Linked DNA regions of Homo sapiens: region 2 is linked to region 1. Evidence: promoter capture Hi-C in human tissues and cell types (Jung and others, 2019). All regions are on one chromosome and are shown on one strand. Each heading gives the region's core, a stretch centred on a gene start or on the middle of the fragment in contact. The rest is flanking DNA. Distances are from core to core; before and after follow the strand shown.

Region 1 (4,648 bases), core at 1,515-4,014:
TACTTTTCAAAAGCTTAATATTGATTACCTCACTCGACTGTCATAAGTGTCCAATAAGACAGGTCTGTTATTATCCTTATTTTACCTAATAACCTCCACGTCACTCAGCTTGTAAGTGGACAAACAGCATAAACTTAATATGTCTAACTCTATAAGCTGTGTTCTTAAAGCATCATGTTAAGTAACTTCTCCTGATGCACACAAAAGCCTTTCAAAATAATTTGAGGTAGTGCCAATGTTTCATATACCCAAGACTATATAAGGCATCCAATTCCTTTCTCTGAGTTTACAGACATGCCTGCTAAAAGTTTTTTTCCTACTTTAAGTACTCAAGTCTCAACATACTCACATGCCCATCATCTTATTTTGGGTATTTTCCTGTACTTATTCCATTTCCTGACTCCTTCTGCTATCCTTTTCTTCTATTTTTATGTGGCATAAACAGAATCCTAGATGTTTACTTTGGTTTGTATAATCAAGAGCAAAGATACATGCCACTTGCAATATAATTAAATTATAGACACAATCTATGATGCAACTTAAAGATACAGGTAGAAGATTAGAGATTAATTATTTACATAAATGCAAATCCTAGTAAATAGCTAAGAATTGTATTTCTCTTCAAAAAATCACCCTCATCTCTTGAAAGAAAAAAGAAAGTGAAGAACTGTCAGCTTCAGTGACATGGTCACTTTGCCTGAAATACATTTTTAGGAGTAAATTACTTACTGGTATTATTTAAAGGTAGTATTATGAGATTTGATTGCTATGAATGAAGACTCACTTGGGAATTAGGCCATTCTGAAATGTGGCTCCACCACTTACTGGCTGCGAGATCTTGGCCAAGTTACATCACCTTTCCCTGCCTCAGCTTCCTCATAATGAAAATGAAAACCCTATCCCATAGGGTTTTATGACAAGTCAACGACATAAACACAAGTAAAGCTTTTAGAACAGTGCCTGGCATGTATAAAAGCACATTAGCTATTATCATGCATTATGAGTTTCTAAGTTGTTTTGAGTTAAAAGTAAAAGAGCATTGCCTGGGCATGGTGGTTCACACTTGTAATCCCAGCACTTTGGGAAGCCGAGGCTCACCTAAGGTTAGGAGTTCGAGACCAACCTGGCCAACATGGTGAAACCCTGTCTACTAAAAATTAGCTGGGTGTGGTGGTGTGTGCCTCTAACCCCAGCTACTTGGGAGGCTGAGACAGGAGAATCGCTTGAACCAGGGAGGCGGAAGTTGCAGTGAGCCAAGATAGCACTACTGCACTCCAGCCTAGGTGACAGAGTGAGACTCTGTCTTAAAAAAAAAAAAAAAAAAAAAAAAAAGAGCATTACTATGGTGACAGAAAACCAAGAGTCTCATTCAGGGATCAGCTAATTTTTTCTAAAGGAACAAACAGTAAATATTTGAGGCATGCACAACTACTCACTTTGACCTTCTAGTGTGAAAATAGCCATGGACATACATAAACAAACAAATGAGTATAGCTGTGCTCCAATAAAACTTTTTTTATGGACACTGAAATTTGAATTTCATGTAATTTTTACACATCACAAAACATTATTCTTTTCATTTTTTCCCCCAACCATATAAACACGTAACACTCCTTCTTAGCTCAGGAGCTGGCTGCACAAAAACAGGCAGCACAGCCAGTTTGCCAACCCCTGGTCTAGTCCCAGCTCTTCCTGTAGCTAGCTGGCTGTGGGAGCCTATGCCATAAGCCTTACACGTGGTTCCTAGGTGGAGGCATCATCACACAGAAATACTTGCCTTCCAGTCCCTTGTGAGAAGTCAATGAGACAATAAATATGCAAGCACTCTGAATGGCAGGCTGCACTATACAAAAAAACAGTAGCCAAAGGCAGCAGCGATAACACTTGTTTTTAAAAAATTGGATTCCAAGTTGCTCTAGAGCAAAAACTGTGAGACAGAAAATTGTCACTGGGCAGGCAGTGTGAAATGGTTGAAAGAACTACACTTCCGAGTCAGATATCACTTCCAGGCTCCCCCTTTATGACCTGTAGTCCTTCGGTATTTAAAATCTCTAATGAGCATAAGTTTCTTCACCTGCAAAACCAGGAAGGGAATTCCTACCTCACAGAATGAGACGTTAGTGAAACAAGTACATAACCCACCTAGTGCCAGGCATTTAGTAGGTGCTCAATTTAAAAATTGCACTCAACATCATTATCAGTGTTCGAGTGCAAGTCCCAAAGGTTCCTTGGGAGGCTGTAACTAATCAGGAGTAGGAGAAAGTTGAGGAATTGGAGTCCGTGTACATAGTGGGACTAGAACCCAGGTTTCCTGCCTAACTAATGGAAGTTAAGCAGGCCTCTACGGGCCTGTCTTCCAAGCTGCAGACGAACCCTCAGGACCTACCAGCTCCATCGCTAGATACTGTGAACTCCGCCTACAGCCCCCAGGCCCAACCAGGCTCGAGCGTCAAGTCACTGCACCATAATACTTCGGTCCCACGGCACTTTGCTACGACCGAGGTATTACAGTGCAAAACACCCTCAAAAGCCACAGCCTGAATCACCACTTAAAAATGCGACAGGGCAGGTAGGGCAGACGCGAGACTTACGTGATTAGGGGTAGACCCGAAGACGTACTCTTCAGTGTGCGGAAGGATCCCCAACGGGATGCCCTCCCGCGGCCGCCGCAGTCGCCGCTGTCGCCGCTGAATACAGTTCAAACCTCGCGGGAGGCCCCGGGAGCCAATCGCTGCGCTCGCCCTCCGACCCGGAAGCAGAGCCACAGCGCGTCGCGGCAGCCCCCAAGGAAGACCAGCCTGCCTCTGGTCGGTTCCTGGCGCTCTGCGGTGCGTATCGAGCTGGGAGCCCGAGAGGCCGGGATGCTTTTCTGCCGGCCGCCCAGCCTTGCCACTCTATTCCCAGGAGTTCTTCCTTCCCACTTCGGGCCCCGGGAGGTGGGAGCGGGGTCTTGAGGAACTCGCCTGGCCCGGGGAGAGGTGTCGGCGCTCATTGCAGAGACTTATCTTGTTCCCTCCCTTCTTCTCTGCCGTTGTAGTTTTACAGGGGCAAGTCCTGTCCAACGTGTACGGTGAGGCCCCGGCCACTGCTTTAATGAGCAGTAGGTGTAGGGACGGAACAATTTCGTGACCTCGAATCTCTTGCACTTCTATACCTCTCTGTCTCCGTGTCCATAACACTTGCTGGTCACCCTTCAAAAGTCTCCAGTCCCTGATGTCCATTCCTAAAGTTACTAGTTTATAAGCGTCTCGAGGTGGGACTCATTCTCAGTACATACTCTTAAGGTGCTTGATATGTTTGTTACTGAGTCCAGCTGTTTTCAGGACAACCCTTGTGTCGAATTTTTTAAAAAACCAAAAACTCTAAAACCCATAATTCTCATGTGGGAATGCTACTTCCAGAATGCACACTAGTCCCTGACAGGTTAAGGTCTTCTGCCTAGTTTTAAGAATATTATTATTTTAATTTTTAAGTTCCGGGATACGTGTGCGGGACGTGCAGGTTTATTACAAAGGTAAAACGTGTGCTATGGTGGTTTGCACACCCATCACCTAGGTATTAAGCTCCACATGCATTAGCTATTTATCCTGATGCTCTCCCTCCGCCCAACCCCCTGAACATTATTTTTATATCACACATTTTGGTACTCCTTAACAACAGATCCTGTATTTTCTATCTGTTTATATTATAGCCCTTTTCACGTTGAGTCATAACTATCCCTAAACTGTGGTCTCCTTCAAGCCAGGAGGCTGTTTTTTTCTTCATTAGCGCTGGTTCTCCACACACAATGAAGTCTTCCAAATCCTGGCCCTGCTTATGAGCTTGGCAAGTTAGTTAACCTACTGAAGCCTCAGTTTCTCCATCTACAAAATGGAGACCAGAGGTAGTACCTGCCTTTAGATTTGTACAGATACCAGATGTGATCATGTCAGTAAAATGCTTAATATGGTACCTACAAATAGTGGTTCATAAAAGTTATTAATTTTTATTAACATTTGCTGTTAAAATGATTCCATCTTCAGATGAAATACTATTTGTTTTAGATAATCTAAACAGAACTTTGCAGTGTTATTGTCTGCTAGAATCACAGATATGGGAAAGAGCTGTGGAGCAAATGTGGAACCATTAATAACTAGATTTAATATTTTTCCTGCAGTTTCTGTCCCTTGATAAGTACTTTAAATGTTTCTTTTGAGCTTTCTGTCTCATTGTAACACCACAACCTTATTTTGATGCATTTGCTGAATGACTAACATATTGACCATTGTAATTGTACCTGTGCTCTAATCCACAGTTTCGTGACCTTGTCCAGTAGAAGGCTATTTAATTTTCACAACTGCTTGAATTTTGACATACAAGATGAAGCAAGATGCCTCAAGAAATGCTGCCTACACTGTGGATTGTGAAGATTATGTGCATGTGGTAGAATTTAATCCCTTTGAGAATGGGGATTCAGGAAACCTAATTGCATATGGTGGCAATAATTATGTGGTCATTGGCACGTGTACGTTTCAGGTTAGTCTACAAAACTGCACCGAATGACAGTGAACATATTTCACTACTAAGAGAACTTACACAAACCAAATCTAAACTTTGAAAGTATATTGAGTTTGAATGTTAAAAAAAAAAAAGATAAGATCCATAGAGA
Region 2 (4,648 bases), core at 934-3,433, 340 kb before region 1:
TAGTATGGAGCACTTAATAAAATTTCTTGATTTGATATTGAAAATGTCATTCCAAAAGCTATTTCCTTCTTCCAGTCCCCAGAATATATACCATGACTTACAATTTGCTACTGACATCATTTTGGATCTGAGATTGAAGATATAGGAGAAAAAAGTCAACAAGTCTACTTGAGATGTCACCTCTTAGGACCCCTTCACCACTGCTCCACTGAAAATGCCTAGCTCAAGATTAAGCTAACTCTAGTCAACAGGTAATTTTCAAAGGCTACTGGACCCTCACCAATAAGGTCTACTTATGAAAGTGAGAACAGAACCTCCACTCAGTTCCTCTCTACTTCTATGTGAGTTATTTAAAAGGAGTAGTGTTGGGCAAGGGAAGGTATGCAACAACTGGTACATCCCTGGCTAAGGTATGAATCACAGCTGGAGCACCAGCCCTTAGAGAACACTACAAGTGGTTTCTATTTGCCAATGCAGAATTGAAAAATTAGAGAGCTAGAAAGAACCATATAGAGCAATCTGATCCAGTGCTCTCACTTCCCAGATGAAAGGACCAAGGTCCAGAAAAAACATGATGTGCATGAGGTCACAAAAGTTGGTCGGAAAAGCTGGAGCTACTGGTCGGAAAGCCAAGGCTACATTTCAGTCACCTCATGCTTGGTCCAGAGCTCTTTGCACAGCTGGACCCTTTAAACTTAACCTCAATAAACTCATATGAGGGTAGTGCTCATAACCACAGTCCATACACTCAAAGTGAACTGCTATGTCATATTCTTCTGGTGTAACACCTCAGAATAGTTTCTAGAAAATTAAGCTCTTAGCCATTCATGAAATCTTCATTTACTAATTTCTACCATCCATCGGATAACATCATGAAGTCTCTTTATCCCAAATCTGATCGACCTGACTGTAGGACTGTGTACCTTAATAAACCCTAGTAGTTTGAGGGATTGGAGGCTTACAAAAGAAATAAAGGAAAAAGCTGATTTTAATTTGAAGTCAAGCCAGCATGTTGCATTGCTCTCTAACTCAGAAGTGACCCCAAACAAAAGGAATTATCGATGTGTTGTCTGTCTTCACACATTCCTAACTTGCTAGTCTTCCACGAAGATCTTCCATGAAGAAGCTTAAATTTTCCTACGTAGTTTGAGTTTTATGTTTCTTTCCATTAAAGTTTCCAGCCGTTCATAGACATATTTAGTTTGGCAGAAGGTAGTGGTGACTCACGGAATGAAGAAATTTGAAGGCAAAGCTACTGAAAATGGATCTAATTTCTTTTTGGGGTAATTTGGGAGCGAGCAATTGATAATTTGTCTAATTTTCCTGGTTTCATCAGCTGCCACACTGCCAAATATATGTTCCATATGGATGCTTTGTTATTCCTGAAACATATAACAAATTTCAGCTGCGACTTTATCTAATATGGTCAAAGGGTAAGACTATTGTTGGCTCATTTTCTCATTGTTTTTGGCTGGACACCCTCAATCAATGGCTATTGAGTGAAAAAACAGGATCATATTGAAACCATTTTCAGCATGTTGCTTCCTATGGATCCAACCATTTCACTGTGAGTTTGTCAAGCACAGCAAATGTTCTCTATTAAAGGGATGACTGTGTTCTCAACATGGATGCGACTGCCAGTTAATTGCATTCACCTTATAATTCCAGTCTCTCAATTTGGTGTAGAGATGGTTTTGGCTCTCCAAAGATTCCTTCTTTTCTGCTGATTCTTACCTCCTAGTATGGAACAGATATTTGAGGATGAATTTTGAGAAGATCAATGACACACATACAATAAGCATCATTTCAGGCTTCCCTTAAGTTAGACAGTCTGTGGGCCCTGAGTCATATGAATCATAAGACTTGTGAAAGGTATTAGTGCCACAAATCTGGCTGGCATTTCTGTAGATTATCGGTGCTTTGCATGCAATTATGAAAATCTCTCTTACCAGATAAGTCAGATGGGGGTTCAGTAACATTGCACAAAAGCATCATGATGTGTAAGCTAAAGACAAAGAAAGGCTTACTTCTGGCTGGTTCTGAAGTAGACACTGGCCACTTAGTGTTTTAAAGTCATTCAGTGGATGATTGGTTTCAATGAATATAAATGATTTTGATCTCCCTCCCCAACACACATATCAAAAACAACAGTAATAATAAAGAACAGAAAAGTCTATCTCTTAGAAAAACCAGATTTGAAAACTGGCTAGGGAAAGTGTTTTGTGGCAAGAAACAATCTCTTGTATCTCTTGTTTACAACGGGCTAATTGGTTTGATTAACAAATTGTCTAAGGGGAATGTATCAATGTTGCTTAGGAAAAACAAAGCTTAGTGTGTGAAAATACACATAGACATAGAGTCTTGCTACTCAAAGAAACCTGAGGGCTTTTTAGAAATGCAGAGTCAGGGGCCCTGACCCCAAACCAATTAAATCAAAATCTGCATTTTAACCCGATACCCACAGGATTTGGATGCGTGTTAAGGTTTGAGAAGCCCCATCTAGAGAATGGCAGGAAGTAAGAGGTACTTGCTAATTCGTGGCTCACATTTGATAAGACAGAGTACAAAAAGATCAACTGTCACTGCAGATTTCAAAAATGATGTTAAGGTCAAACCTGCTTGTGGCCATTAACAATATATATGCTGATTCACTGGTATTTGGTCCAGATTCCCTCAAGTTGGTGGAACCTTTCCTCAGAGGAATGATAGAACTGCTCCAAGGATAACCCCATGGCCTGACCTTCTGTGAACTGGAAATTGGAACTTCTAATTGCTGTAGCTGCAATTTCCAAGCCCATCACTGGGGCCAGGAACTGAGCCCCAGTCCTTAAGATCTTGCCAGTTTCTTTTTCAATAGTTACATTTTTCAAGAACAGCCAAGCAAGAGTGCTTCAAAAAAAGAAAAAAATCTAATTGCATTAAGTGGACGAATGTGTGTTTTACTCATATCAAATTTCATCTTTTGTTATGCTCAGCCAGATTCTAATATTATTTCTTATGGGTCTGAGTTAATTAGTTCTATGAGGGTTCCCACTGGGATTTTAGAGAAATGGTTTTAAGGTAAGAAAAGTCTATTTTGGTCACCTATCAGAAGGTGAAGGGTAAACTTTAAAACTGCTTTTCAAAGAGATACAGCTGGCTTCGGGTCTTTACGAGGGTCATTCTGAAACTCAAGTTCCCCAGCCTGAGCCCATTAATGAAGGTCATTAATGAAGGCCTTGATATCTGAAGGGTGTGCTTCTTCAAAGGGACATTGTCCCACAGCAGGGCAGGTAAAGTGAGAGAGGACCAGTTTTTAACTTGTATTTCTTGAAATGACAATAAAAAGAAAGGGGGGCCTTTGGATTGGAGACTTAGAAAATCTTGGATTTACTCAGAACTCTACCACTAAATAACTTGGTAGATTTGATTATTAATCCCCTGGGTCTCAAAACCTGTTGCCATTGAAACAATGATACGTAAATGAACCAAGACATTCCACCTTTGAAATGTGATAATTGTGATCTCTCTTCCCAGTTTGGCAGGGAAAAAAAGTCACTAATATAGTTTTCACATTGTTTTCACACATCTTTTACTTGAACTTTAAGAACATGCCACTTCTTGTCTATATTCTTGACAAGGATAAGATAGTATTGGACTTAGACCAAAACTATATATTTGATTTGTTTAGATTTAATGCATATTATTTTAATACAGTGATATCCCTGACTCATTGGCACTCTACCCATTGAATTAATGTTGACAAGATAATCTCTAATACCTTTTCCAGAATGTTTACTGCTGTTCATGAAAATCTCTAAAATCCCTTAAGAAATCTGACGGATATGGAGATTATTGTTTGTTTCTTTGTTAGTATTCTCTCATTCCTTTTGCTGGGTGCTTTAGTAAAATGTATGGAAGTAAAATTATAGCTCTGCCCAATTTAATTGTAGAATCATCAGCTGGGCACCTGCTCTGTGTTTAGCAATACCCAAGGGAGAATGATGCCATCCCTTCAAAGAGGTTTCTTTGTGGGGGGACCCATGAAATTCCAATCATACAACTGCAGGCTTGAGTCAGATGGGAATAGTTCTCCCCTATGGTATCCCAGTCCACACCATCTATTGAGTGTCTTCTGGTTAGCCAAAACTAATGATGAAAGAAATGAGTAAAGCACAGCTCTATGCACATGGAATTGATATTCTAGAGCAATGTCACAAAACGTTTCCACTCCCACCCCACCTGCATCTAGTCCACAGACATGTTTTGTTTGGTCCACCCAATATGTATTTGTTTTAATTTTGGAAATATAAAAATCAAGAGATTATAAGCAAAAACAAAAGATTAACAACTTCTCTTATGAAAAAAATGGTGCAATCCAGCATGGCTGAGCCTGCATTCTTGAGTGGCAGTTTTTGGTCACCCTTTTATGTGAAGTGTGTGCCCTTGCAGGCTTAATTTATTCATTATATACCTATCTGGCTCAGCATACATTGACCTATGCCACTCCTGCTCCAAATATGCAAGATCTCGTTGGATATTAACTATACGCTTGTCTATTTTATTACGTTCAAGACATATCTATTGCCTTTGTTCTATCACATAGTTACCAGACTAACTGCTGCTGGTTTATATAAATAAGACACAAACCTCATCTTTATAGAACTGT

What was found. The method cuts DNA at HindIII sites, captures the fragments that hold promoters and counts their contacts. A contact is called where the count stands out against the background at its distance.
Region 2: a contact is called between a fragment that was not itself captured here and the fragment with the promoter of NUP37 in region 1, in 1 of the 25 tissues and cell types used here (aorta).

What each region holds. Positions count from the first base shown.
Region 1 is chr12:102,118,230-102,122,877 of GRCh38, reverse strand. NUP37 (nucleoporin 37) reads left to right here and starts at 2,764. Exons shown (of 10, transcript NM_024057.4): 1 at 2,764-2,828; 2 at 4,295-4,515. The coding sequence starts at 4,360. It overlaps PARPBP (PARP1 binding protein), which reads right to left and starts at 2,695. Exons shown (of 11, transcript NM_017915.5): 1 at 2,592-2,695. RefSeq lists enhancers at 1,292-1,849, 2,894-2,963. The HindIII fragment of the contact is 7,473 bases long and covers 480-4,648 here.
Region 2 is chr12:102,459,817-102,464,464 of GRCh38, reverse strand. All of the region lies in intron 2 of IGF1 (insulin like growth factor 1), which reads left to right. It overlaps LINC02456 (long intergenic non-protein coding RNA 2456), which reads right to left. Exons shown (of 13, transcript XR_007063427.1): 11 at 1-4,648. Among named protein-coding and RNA genes, the nearest start is that of IGF1, 18 kb to the left of the region's middle. The HindIII fragment of the contact is 4,961 bases long and covers 1-4,648 here.